2 separate regions of the Homo sapiens genome follow, and region 2 is linked to region 1. The links are contacts of gene promoters, found by promoter capture Hi-C in blood cells and fetal thymus (Javierre and others, 2016). All regions are on one chromosome and are shown on one strand. The core of a region is centred on a gene start or on the middle of the fragment in contact, and the rest is flanking DNA. Distances in the headings are between cores, read along the strand shown.

The links. Contacts are between HindIII fragments. The CHiCAGO score rates a contact against its expected background, and 5 or more counts as called.
Region 2: a contact is called between a fragment that was not itself captured here and the fragment with the promoter of POMGNT2 in region 1, in 1 of 17 cell types (fetal thymus). The highest score is 5.1, in fetal thymus.

What each region holds. Positions count from the first base shown.
Region 1 is chr3:43,103,743-43,110,409 of GRCh38, reverse strand. POMGNT2 (protein O-linked mannose N-acetylglucosaminyltransferase 2 (beta 1,4-)) reads left to right here and starts at 4,331. Exons shown (of 2, transcript NM_032806.6): 1 at 4,331-4,574. RefSeq lists a silencer at 4,244-4,563. The HindIII fragment of the contact is 5,763 bases long and covers 1,248-6,667 here.
Region 2 is chr3:43,692,089-43,698,290 of GRCh38, reverse strand. The region is part of intron 1 of ABHD5 (abhydrolase domain containing 5, lysophosphatidic acid acyltransferase); the gene reads right to left. Among named protein-coding and RNA genes, the nearest start is that of ABHD5, 4.3 kb to the right of the region's middle. The HindIII fragment of the contact is 2,088 bases long and covers 2,189-4,276 here.

The DNA.
Region 1 (6,667 bases), core at 3,082-5,581:
TATCATGAGAACAGCAAGGGGGAAATCTGCCCCCATGATCCAATTACCTCCAACCTGGTCCTTCTCACAACATTGGGGACTGCAATTCACCCTGAGATTTAGGCGGGGACACAGAGCCAAACCATATCAGGGCTGGAGTCATCTGAGGGCTCATTCGCTCATATATCTGGCAATATATATTGGTTGTCAGTTGAAAGCCTAGCTGGGGCTGCTGGCTGGTATACCCATTGTTATGGACTGAATGGTATCCCCCTGCCCTCGAATTCATATGCGGAAGCCCAAACCTTCAATACGTCAGAACATGACTGTACTTGGAGATATGGCCTTTGAGAGGTAATTGGGTTAAAATGAGGTGATTAGGCTCATTTTTGGGTTAGGCCATAATCCAATCTGACTGGTATACTCATAAGAAGAGGAGATTGGGACACACAAGAGACACCAAGGATGGGCATCCATAGGGAAAAGGCATGTGGGGGCTCAGTAAGAAGGCGGCCATCCTCAAGCTATGGAGAGAGGCCTCAGAAGACACCAACCCTGCTGACACCTCGATCTTGGACTTCCAACCTCCAGAACGGTGAGAAGTAAATCTCTGTTTTTTAAGCTGCCCAGTCTGAAATTTTGGTATGGCAGCTCTAACACATTAATACACTCATGCAGGTCCTATCCATGTAACCTGAGCTTCCTCACAACATGGTGAATCTGTTCCCAAGGCAACCAGAGAGAGACAGAGAGAGGATGTACCACTTTTATGACCCAGTTTCAGAAGTCACATAGCATCACTTCTGACATTTTCTGTTCATTGAAGTGAGTTACTAAGTTATGCCCATATTTGAGGGAAGGGAACTAGACTCCCCCTTTCAAAGGAAAAATAGTCAAATAATTTGCAGACATATTTAAAAACCATCCCAATCTTTACCATCACCACCATGTTCATCATGCAGATTTTAAGATCCTAGCAGGCCAGCCAGGTGGAGGTGTGTATGCCCCAAGCAACTTGGATTGGGAATGTGGATCTGGAATTCAGGGCTAGAGATGTGGGTTTGGAAGGCATCCACACAGAGAAATAGAAAGGGAATATGACCCCAGACAAAGGGAGAGGGCTTGGACTTGAGGAATGCCTAACTCAGCTTGGCATGCATGAATATGGATTTAAAATGCTGGGAAAGACCTCAAAAAGCCAGCTACCTAAGCCACCTTGGATATTTAATAAAAAGAAATGTACTAGTTTTTTCCAGTCTACTAAAGCTTCCTACCAGCAATGCTCCACAGCCAGAATAGTTTTCAAAACATGATGGACTCAAAGATGATCAGTGTCTGCAAACTGGGTCCTAGGTGACTTACAGGCCATCCTGTTAGATCCTATCCAGGAGATTCAGCTTTGGCCAGAACCCAATCCCTGTCCACCTCCAGCAAGGGGCTGCTCTCTTGGACTGTTAGGTGCCTCTTTCTATCAGTGACTATGACTGGCTATCTTATAGAGACCCATAAACTCAACATAGGAGCTTTTTAAAACTTAGAAGTTTTTTAAACAACTTATATTTAAAATAACAAAACAATATATGTTCACTTCAGAATAAATTCATACAGGTAACCAGCAAGATGACAATAAAAAAACACCCATAGTCTTACCACCCTGGGTCATGGCTCATTGAAATTTTGCTGATATCCTTCTGTGCTCTGTGCTGTTACTGTGCACAAATATATTCTTTTTAAAAATGGGATCTTATGGAATATTTTATACTTTTTTCATTAAATATGATATAATGTGAAATGTCTTCCACTCTATTAAGTAAATACTATTTTGCAGCATCTTTTCAATGATTTCTGAGATGATCTGTGATTTTACTTAATCCTGCATGACTGAGGAATTAAGCAGTTTCCAAATTTGTTTTTTTTCCTACTTTTTATCTTGAAATAATTATAGATTTGTGAAAATCTATAATAAGATAGTACAGAGAGGAATCTCTTCATCCAGTTTCCCCCAATGGTTACATTGTACGTAATTATAATACAATATAAAAATCAGGAATTTAACCTTGATAGAAAGTTTGTGTGTAGTTTTAGTCATTTTATCACATGTGTAGATTTGTGTAACCACTACCACAATCAAGACAAAGAACTATTTCATCAGTACAAAGGCTTCCCTTCTGTTACCCTTATATATTCACACCTACACCCTGTCTTCAACCTCTGACAACCACTAATATTTTCTCCATCTCTATAGTTTTGTCATTTCAAGAATGTTATACAAATGGCAACCAGAGTATGTAACCTTTTGAGACTGACTTTTTTTCACCCAGCATAATGCCCAAGTTGTGGCATGTGTCAATTGTGCCTTTCTATTGTTGAATGATATTCTTTATATAGATGTAATCACAGTTTATTTAACCATTCACCTATCGAGGGGCATTTTGTTTGTTGACAGTTTTTGACAATTACAAATAAAGAAAGTAGGAACAATTGTGTACAAGTTTGTGTGTTAACATAAGTTTCCATTTCTCTGGAATAGATGCTCAGGAGTGTGATTGATGAGTCATATGGGAAGCATATGTTTAGTTTTTTAAAAGAAACTACCATGATATACCCATCTGTGAGTAATATATGAGAGATCCAGTTCTGTGCATACTCACCAGCATTTGCTATTTTATTTTTTAAGCTGTTTTGTAGTTGTTGTTGTTGTTTGTTTGTTTTTGAGATGGAGTCTTGCTCTGTAGCCCAGACTGGAGTGCAGTGGCGCGATCTCGGTTCACTGCAACCTCCGCCTCCTGGGTTCAAGTGATTCTCCCCTGCCTCAGCCTCCTGAGTAGCCGGGTTTACAGACGCGCACCAACACATCCAGCTAATTTTTGTATTTTTAGTAGAGACGAGGTTTCACCATGTTGGCCAGGCTGGTCTTGAACTCCTGACCTCGTGATTCGCCAGCCATGGCCTCCCAAAGTGCTGGCATTACAGGCATGAGCCACCGCGCCCTGCCTTTTTAAGCTGTTTTAAATAGGTGTATGGTGATATCTCAGCATAGTCTTAATTTGCATTTCCTTTATGGCTAGTGATGAACATCTGTCCTTATTTGCCATCTGTATAACTACTTTGGTAAAATATATATTAATGTCTTCTGTATATTTAAAAACTTATGATCCAGGATACAGTTTATCTTAATATATATACCAAGGTTGCTTGAAAAGAATGTGTATTCTGTTGGTGGGTGAAGTATTATGTAAATATCAATTAGATTAGGATGGTATTAGTGTTGATCTTTTCTATATCCTTGCTGACTTTCTGTCTAGTGTTCTATCAGTTGTTGAGAGAGGGATGCTGAAGTTTCCAATTACAGTTGCAGAGTTGTCTATTTCTAATTATGGTTCTATCATTTGATTTATTTATGTTAAGGCTATGTCGTTAGGTGTATCCACATTTAGAATTATGTCTTCTTGGTGAATTGAACCTTTTATCATTATATAATTATCCCTTTTTTATTCTTGGTAATTTTCCTTGCTGTCAATTCTACTCTCTCTGAAAGTAATATCACCACTTCAGCCTTTCAGTTTATTATCATCTAAACAACACTATTCAGCCTTTGCAGTCATCCACAATTATTAGAATTTCTTGGTTAGAGGCTTTTGACTACATGTTTTTAAAGGTTTTTGGCTGTATTGACAAATTGCCCTGCAAAAATTTACCAACTTAATACCTTAACATTTGGGCTAATTTAAAATAATCATAAATTAAAGTCAGGGCTTTCCCAATTTGATAGGTAGAAATCTTATAACTCTATGGAGGTGGAGTTGGTGGTGGTAGGTGCATCTCTAGATGACTTAAGTTCAAAAAAAGTCAAGAGATCTAAAAAAGAAGTCAAAAGATCTAAAATTCATAACTCAAGAAATAGGGGCATATGTATATTCGGAGAATCCGCGGGAATGCCAGATGCCACAGCCATAAGTAGCTGCCCTTGAGGACTGGACAGCCAGGACTGGACGGTGGGATAAGGTGACAGCTGGTTAATGGAATGGTGCCGCAGAGGACTGGTGCTTTTGTAAGTTCTCTGTAGCATTACAATTTTTAAAAGCATGTAAACGTATTAATTACCTTGACTTTACAATGACATTTGGTTGTTGGTTAAACTTGCATTTAAATTTATTATCAGAACTGCCATAACTGTGTAATCCTAACACTAAGTAAAACTCAGCCTCTCGGCGCAAATTATCACTCCCAACATTCCGCAGGCTGGTGGCGGCGCGGGCTGTCCTCGTACGCAAAACTACACCTCCCAGGATTCCGCGAGCCAAGGTTGTGGCCGGGGCCAGGGCAACCGAACTCGCGGCTCTGCGCAGGCGCACAGGCTCCGCGCCGGGCTCGCCCGCCGGGCAGGCGCACGGCGGACACCTGCGAGCCTGGAGGTGGCGGTCGCTGCGAACCCGGCGGCGCGGCCAAACCTGTGCTGGCTGCCTGGGCCTTCTGGGCCTCCTGGGCCAGAAGCTGGCGCTGGGGGCGGCGGCGGGGTGGGAAAGCGGCGCCGCCGTGGGGCCTCCTGGACGCGTCGGCGGAGGTGGCTTCGTCCCGCGGAGTCCAGGCTTCAGGTAAGACGCGCGCGCGCTTGGGGCTGGAGCGGACTCCGACACCCGCCTGGGACTTGAAGTGGAGGTGTCGAACCCTCGGCCCCCTGGAGGGGACGACGCGGTGCTGGGCCCCGGGGTGAGGGGGAGGTTCTAGGACGCCTTCGGGATCCAGGAGAGTTTGCAGAACTGAGGGGTGACGTGTGAAGCGAGCTGAGGGAGGCGCGGGAGGTGGGCGGGGCGGGGGTGGACCCTCAGGGTCGGGGGCCGGGGATTGGGGGTCGGGGGCCGGGGGCCGGGGACCTGGGCAACGCCCTGGGGCTTGCCAGTTCGAGCCCTCAGCTCGTGGCAGGCACTGGCGTCGGGTCCTCAGGCCCTTTTGCTTTGGGAGGTGATGGGTGGTGCACATTTGGCGGGGGTGGTGGGGAGCCACGCGAGGTGCGCGGAGCGGGCCTGGGCCTCCCCAACTGCCTTTGAAGGCAGAACCCCGGCAGGCCTGCAGCTGATTCCTGGGCGCTTTGGGGGCCAGTAGGGCACCTACCATGTGTGTCCGGTGGTAAGAGCTTGCCACGGCCTGCTTGGCAGTGCCAGAGTAGCCTCTGAAGAAGGAACCCAGTGAACTCCTGACTCCATGTGTGTGTTTAGGAACCCGTCTCCAGCTCACTGATGGGAACTCTCTGCTAAAGTATGTGACCGTCAGGCCAGAGTCTTGCACCAGGTGCAGGGCGACCAGTGTCTGCCTACTTTATTGCCAGCCAACACTTAGAGCGTACTCTTGGGAGAAGCAAGGCTCCGCGTGGAAAAGGATGACTTCAGGGTTATGGGGCGAGCTTGATAGGACTTAGTAGCTAAGAGCATAGACAGAGGAGGTTTCATTCACCAAATGTTTACTACAATATGTGCCCCGCCTTCAAATCTTGGTTCTCGGCTACTAGCGGTGTGCGTTTAAGCAAGTCACTTATCCTCTCTTAGCCTCTGTTTCTTTCTCTGTGAAGTGGAGATGAAAGTACAGTGCCTTTATCACGGGGTTGCAGTGGGGATGAAATAGTGCCAGGCAAGTCCTCAGCCCAGTATGTCTAACAGTAAGTGTGTGGCAAATATCAGCAGTCGTGGTGACTAACGACAGAAAGTGTTAGAGGTGCTTGGAGTCCAGGTTCATCTTTAATGGTACTAGCTGCCCTCTCTGGCTCTCATGAATCTTGCAGATCTTCCAGCTCATCCTTTCAATATTAATTTTGAGGAATCTCAGTCCCTGCAGAGCTAGGAAAGAGCATAGGTCCCCTCATCCCCAGGGGTGGTCAGCACGTTCCTTCCTGAGCCTTGGGCCCCTGCGAGAACGAGAAGGAGAGTGGAGATCTTCAGCAGAAAGGAGGGCATGGTGCTGGTGGCTGGGCCCACCGTGGCCATGTAAGCATGCTAGTTGGCAAGTTCTTGCTCTGAGCCTTGCTTTAGAAAATATTTAGCAATAAACAAAGCCTTCTAGTAAATATTGCACTAACTAGAAAATTAGATTACCAAATCCCCCATTCCAAGGGTCCTTGCCAATCTCAGCTTGGTTGTCAGTGGGATACTTTCCCCCCAGGACCTACCAATCACGTGATTCCCAGGGTTTCTTAAATTGGATGAAATAATGAATGTGAAAGGTGGAACCTGCAAATGTCATCACGGGCTTTGGAGTCCGTCTTGGTTTTGAATCCTAACCCCTCTACTTAATTGCTGTGTATCACTGGGCAATTCACTTAATGCCTCTAAGCATACCTTCTTAAATGTGAAATTGAATTAATAGCATTTACTTCAGGTAGTGGGGAATAAATGAGATAATGCGTGTAAAACAGTTAGCACTGTGCCTGGCTGAGAGTGAAAGCCAGTGAACAGGAGTTATTTTACCATTACGATTAATAATAATATTAGAAAAATAATTGTCAGACATGGTGTTTTGCCTTTGCTGTCTCTTTGAATTCACAAAACTACCCTGTGAAGTAGGTATAATTGTGTTTTTCAAGCCAGGAAGTGAAGGCTTGGAGAGGTAAAGAATTGGCCTAAGGTCACTTAGCTGCTAAGTGACAGGGATGGGAATTCATATCCTGGCATCTCCAGCTCCAGAACTGGTGCCATGT
Region 2 (6,202 bases), core at 1,983-4,482, 590 kb before region 1:
GAGACAAGAAGATGTAGTCAAAGAATATTTAAAAGGAAAACAGGTTGGATTTGATAACTGGTTGGAGATAAAGAAGTTATAATAAGGATTCCCAGGCGTCTCTCTTAGGTTACCACTATAATGACAGACAACACAAGAGTAAGAATAGGTGTGAGAGGAAAATGTGCTAAGTTTTGGAAGGGTTGTGTACCAACATCTAGCTTTTCTTACCTTTGTAGGTTCATCCTACTATATTTCCCTTCCCTGTAGAATTTATCTGGATATTACGTATAACAGGTACTCAATCAATAATGTTTGCTGAGTGATTAAGTCACTCACAATCCAGGGGATTCTCAGTCCAAATTATCCCCATTTCATAGATGTAAAAACTGAAGTTCAGAAATGTTAAGCACCAAGTCCAAGGGTATACAGCTAGTAAGTAAGTAAGTTTGATTCTGAGCCACTCCAAAGTGCTTTTTTCTCAAATGACTACCTTCCTTAAAATGTCTGAAGGGTTGCCCATTACCTACAGGATAAGTCTATATTTTCCTGGACCTGCACAGAAGGTACTTTGCAATCCATCCACAGCCTACCTCCATCCCATCTTTTCTTTTCATATATTGTACTTTTTCCAGTACTTCATATCTCTCAAAATTTCATATGATTACATGTCTCTATGGCTTTGCACAGCTCTTATAAATTACCCAGTCTCAGGTAGTTCTTTATAGCAGCATGAGAATGGACTAATACACAGGCCATTAAAATAAAAGAACTCATGATTTTTAGAGGTTAAAGGTGAAGCTCTTTTGTCCTTGACCAGCCATTAGGTCTATATTTAACCATAAAAATATGAACTAGTACCAACAAGAAATTACTTACAACTCAATCTCATCCATTGTCTTAAACAAACATCCCTCGAACCATATCACAATTATTTGCCAGAGAGAATCAGAGGTCAATTAAAAAAAATTACAGTGAAATGAAGTATAAGCTACTATTGCTCCAGTTGATATCACAGACAAACTGGGGCAAAGAAAACACAAATGCATTCTTTGCATTAAAAAAGGATACTTTTTTAAAAAACGACACTCAAAAAATAATTCAGACACTGAATACCTACTATGTACAAAGCACCAGTGTTTAAAAAGTTACATACCAGCCTGTAATGGAAGAATCATGCCTACCTCCACCAACTTACCACTTACCACAAAACCAGCTTTCAAACAATGGGACTGTCTGTCCATGGATTTGCCTTCTAGTGACCAGCTCAACTCAGAGAAGGGGCAAAACATGTTTTCATGTTTGTAAGCTTACATTAAAAAGTAGGGATCTTCAACCATAAGAAGAGGCACCAACTCTCTTCAGGTTTTCACAGAAGCATTTTCATCAAAACAGGTGATTTTTTAAAGTGGGTTTTTTTCTAACAGAAAAATATATATTTAACAAAACATAGCAAGATATTTTTACTCTTAATGGAATTGTAAAGATAGCACTCTTCCCCTAAGCCCTGATAATGCTTCTGTCCAGTTTCACTTTAACCAGATGATTAAATGTTTTACAGAAACTATCCTCTGCTTCTTTGAGACACTCTACAGGATTAAGTGTTATATACATAATAGGCTTCAAGGAACATTTCCAATGAGTAAAAAGCAAGGGCCTTATCTTTTCCACCCTTTAGTTGATTCCTGTTTGTTCAAAGGTCTCATACCTTACCTTGCAACCTCTATTGCTTCAACCCTTTAAAACTTACCCATCCAACTCTACCTCCTGTCTTCGGGATAAATTAATCTCACCTTCAAAGAGACCCTTTGCCCCCTCCCCAGTGGTATCCTATGCCATTCAGTGTTGCTCAGCATTCCTAGGTTTAGTATATAGAAGACTGGAACTAAGGACACAGGACTGAAGCTTGTCAGATATTCTGCCATTCTTCTGAGGTCACAAAATTCAAGGCAAAAATTAAATTCACACAGCCCACCTATAAAACAGTAAACTAGATTCAATGCCTCTTCCTCATAGCTTTGGAAAATAAATAGAAAAGCAAAACCTAACTTCTCTATTTTATTTAAGGAGACAAGCAATAAACACTATCATCCATCACTGAGGCCTAAATTCAACAGTGACCAAAGTGTCAACTGTAATACAAAGAGAAGTCATTCACCACAGGAACTATAGCTTTCTAATAGTAAGCATCTATGACATGGGGAAAGCTTACCAATGCAAGCCAAAAAGTTTTCTACACAGCCCCATCAGTTGGGCACTTACCTTATTAGCAAGGCAAAGGATATAAGCCCTAAAGCATCTAATCACAGAAACAAAAACAAAAAAAGAAAGGATTCTTGTTTTACAACCATTGTAGTGCAAACTAAGAATCTTTTTAGTGAGCAGACTTTTGAGTAAGAAAAGTTATAAAAGATCACATCAGAGGTGACAATTCTAAGGAAAGCCAAGTAAGATGTGCTTAACATATTAATAGAGTATATTTTACCTAAGAATCTGACTTTAAGTATCCTGAGTGAGAGATAGACACCACTTTTTCCATTAACTTTTTACGTAATCCTTCTAAAAAAATATTATGTCATACTTATACTCCATACTATCAACACTTAAGTTTCCTGGTAATCTCTGTTTTGTTCTTTAACACATCTGTCTATCTACAGTATTACTAAACCTGAATTGCACAATCTATAAACATTATGAAACAGTGAAAGAGGTTTCGAAGTATTCTGAAGAAAATATGCAGAAATCTGGCCAGTTTCCATACACTCTTGGCCACTTAATATTTCTAATTAGGTTATAAGTAAAGAGGATTTCATTATATTAAAATTTTGTTTAAAATGGCCTCCATTCCTATTCTAGTAGTTGAGAGAGAAAAATCACATAAACTTATTGCTCTTGATAAACCTAAGCACAGCTCTCTATCTCATTTAAAGAAACCATGAGGCTTTGATTTTTATTATAAATATCCAAATGAATTACAGGTATGAATATATACATTTATTTATATTTACATTTATATTTATCTGAGATACTTCCTCAACCAATGACTAAAAACATCCAAATTGGAAATTATAACACTTGGGTAAATAAAGACCTTTCTTGGGAATTGACTTTTTAAATCCTATTCTTGGGAAAGAGAAAAAGAAAAGAAAAAAGCGTACTTTGGGAGGCTGAGGTGGGAGGATTGCTTGAGCTCAGTCAGGAGGTCAAGACCAGCTGCCTGGCACATGCCTGTAGTCCCAGCCGCCTGGCACATGCCTATAGTCCCAGCAACCTTGGGGGGGTGGAATACAGGGGCTGGGGGGCAAGTTGCTGAGGTGGCAGGATTGCTTGAGCCCAGGAGGTTGAGGCTGCAGTGAGCCATGATTGTGCCACTGCACTCCAGCCTGGGTGACAGAGCAAGAACCTGTCTCTGGAAAACAAACAAAAAAAAAAGAATATGGTCTCATACAGCTACAATTTAAGTGACTAACATGCCATTTTATTTTGGATAAATGATACTTAAGTGATTCAAATTATCACTATTAGATCAATGACAATCCAGGCCCTCTAATATATGTTAACACATTAATTAATACTGTTTTAACTGCCCCTCCCCCCCCAACCTGTAACTTTTAAAGACTCAGATTGGTAGTATAAGTGTTTTAGACAAGCCATGTGCTGGTAACACGTATCTCCCCATTGTTTCCTACCTTCCTTCACACAGTAAACAAACCATTTTAGAGTCACTTATATGACCTCATTATCAAACACACTTGAAGAAGCCACAGGTGTACTCTACTTAACAAGTCAGTGACATTTCTTTGCATCAGTTCTAAAATAAGTTCATTCACTAGATAATAAAGAGAATAAAACTAAAAATCCTAGGTCTCAACTGAATAATCAGTTTTAATAAAATCACCTCTCCATATGATTTTTTTTAGTAACTCACAATCAGGAGTGGGAATTACAGAACCATGAGATTAAACTAATAATCTAACAATTAGTCAAGGCAATGATTAAGCCAATATAATGTTTCAAGAGGAAGAACTGAGCTTTTTTTTTTTTTTTTTTTTTGAGACGGAGTCTTGCTCTGTCGCCCAGGCTGGAGTGCAGTGGCACGATCTCGGCTCACTGCAAGCTCCGCCTCCTGGGTTCACGCCATTCTCCTGCCTCAGCCTCCCGAGTAGCTGGGACTACAGGCGCCGCCACCTTGCCCGGCTAATTTTTTTGTATTTTTAATACAGACGGGGTTTCACGGTGTTACCCCAAAGTGCTAGGATTACAGGCGTGAACCACGGCGCCCGGCCAGAACTAAGCTTTTTATATCGTTTAGTTTAGGAGCAGGAAGGTAAAAATAAGATCATGGTCTGGACATGTTAAATTTGAGGAATCAGGCACAAACATCTGACAATTAGAAACATTACCAGAGTACAGAAGAGGGCTCCAGAAAGAAAATGAGATCTGAGTCATCTCCACAGACAAGACAGTTCACGTTTGAGTAAACAAGATGAAAAATAAAAACAAGGATGATGACAGAATCTTGGAAAATGACTACATTTAGAGAATGCAAAAAAAAAAAAAAGAGGAGAAACTAATAAAAGTTATTGTTGGTCAGGTAAGGTAAGATAAAAGGCAAAATGTCATTAAGACCTAGAATGTCTAATAAGAGTTTCAAAAAGTAGTAGCTATCATTACAGTAACAAACACCAAAAAGGACCCAAGAAGAAGTACTGAAAAAAACTAGAAGGCCATTGGGATGTGGCAGTGAAAAGTTTTGTGATTTTTAAGATATCAGGTGGCAAAGGTTTGGGAAGGAGAGAAGGCAGCAGAGAGAAAGGCACATATCTTGCCAGTTTTTAAAAAGATTAGATAGAGAAATCCACTCTCCTATCTCCAAGGCAAAGACCTACATTCACAGTCTAATGTAAACCCAGTGGGGAGCTGGCAAACAAACTGAAGCAGGGAGGGGAGAGAAAAATCCCTTATTTATACCTTATTTATAGCATTTGATGATTTCCGTGGTGTAAATACTCCCACCATGGCCAATTTCAAGCTGCCAACCGTTGGCAAAATTCCTGAAAATTTAGCAATGGCTTGCTGGTACAAATCAACTCCAGCACACAACTGCAAATCACCTCTTTTATGGTCTACCCTGCAACTGAGCAATTCTGTGACAGCTTTCTCTCAACTCAATTGACACTAAATCATTCTCTAGGACAACTTAAAGCAATTCACAGAAGTCTACTCTACTCTCATTACATTTAGCTTTCTCAACTGTATTGCAACTGAAAGGGGTTGGATGTTGAAAGCAAAATGGATCCCAGTATGCCTGTCTTCACTAAGTGCCACAAAGCAAAGGACAAGAATCATATTCTCCAAAAAGCCATCAGATGACCATTTTATAACTTTCCTTTGTTAATGTTATCTCCCTATCTAAACCTCAAATGTCTTAAGGGTAGGGAACTGTATTCAAACAAGAGCCAAACATCCCACATGAGTCCCAATTCCAGTGACAGGCAGCAGGGATACAGGGTAAGCACCTTAGATTAAATCCAGACACCTCAAAGGGTTCCACAAAGGGTTCCAATCCAGCCCTGCTACTTGCTGGCAGGCTGTTAGCAGCCTTTACAGTGGCAGTTTCAACTGCAAAATGGGAACAATAATACCCAGCACACAGGGGCAACCTTGGATTTAACAGGATCACTTCTGGGGATAGTCACTGGACACTGCTAAAGCATATTGCCAAGAATACCAGCGAAGCCCACTTCTGTCTAGAAACTATGGCTGATCAGCTGCTAAGGATTTTTTAATCATCTACCTCCAATGACCTCCAACCATCACTCCAAGCCATAAAACCCTTTCACGATTGTGTCCTGGACTCCAAGGCCCCACTACATCAAAACCAAATAGTCCACCTGAAAGTAGTGTCAAGAGTCAAAAATGTTGTGACAAACAAGATGAGAACACAACCTACCAATTACGTTCCTACTTGCGTCCACATGACATTCAACATTTCACCTCAGTGCAACGAGGAAGTTCATCAACAAACCTCAACAAATAAACAAAACTCAAGAGAATAACTTCCTTTCTAATATTTCACAATTTTTCCCCATGACATCTTTCCAAATATCCCTGTCTTCATGGTACTCCATATTCTATCATTTAGGTTATGTTTCCTAGGCAAATTTCTCCAGACGTCTGAAGTAGAACCGACGTCAAAAAATTAAATATATATGGGGGAAGT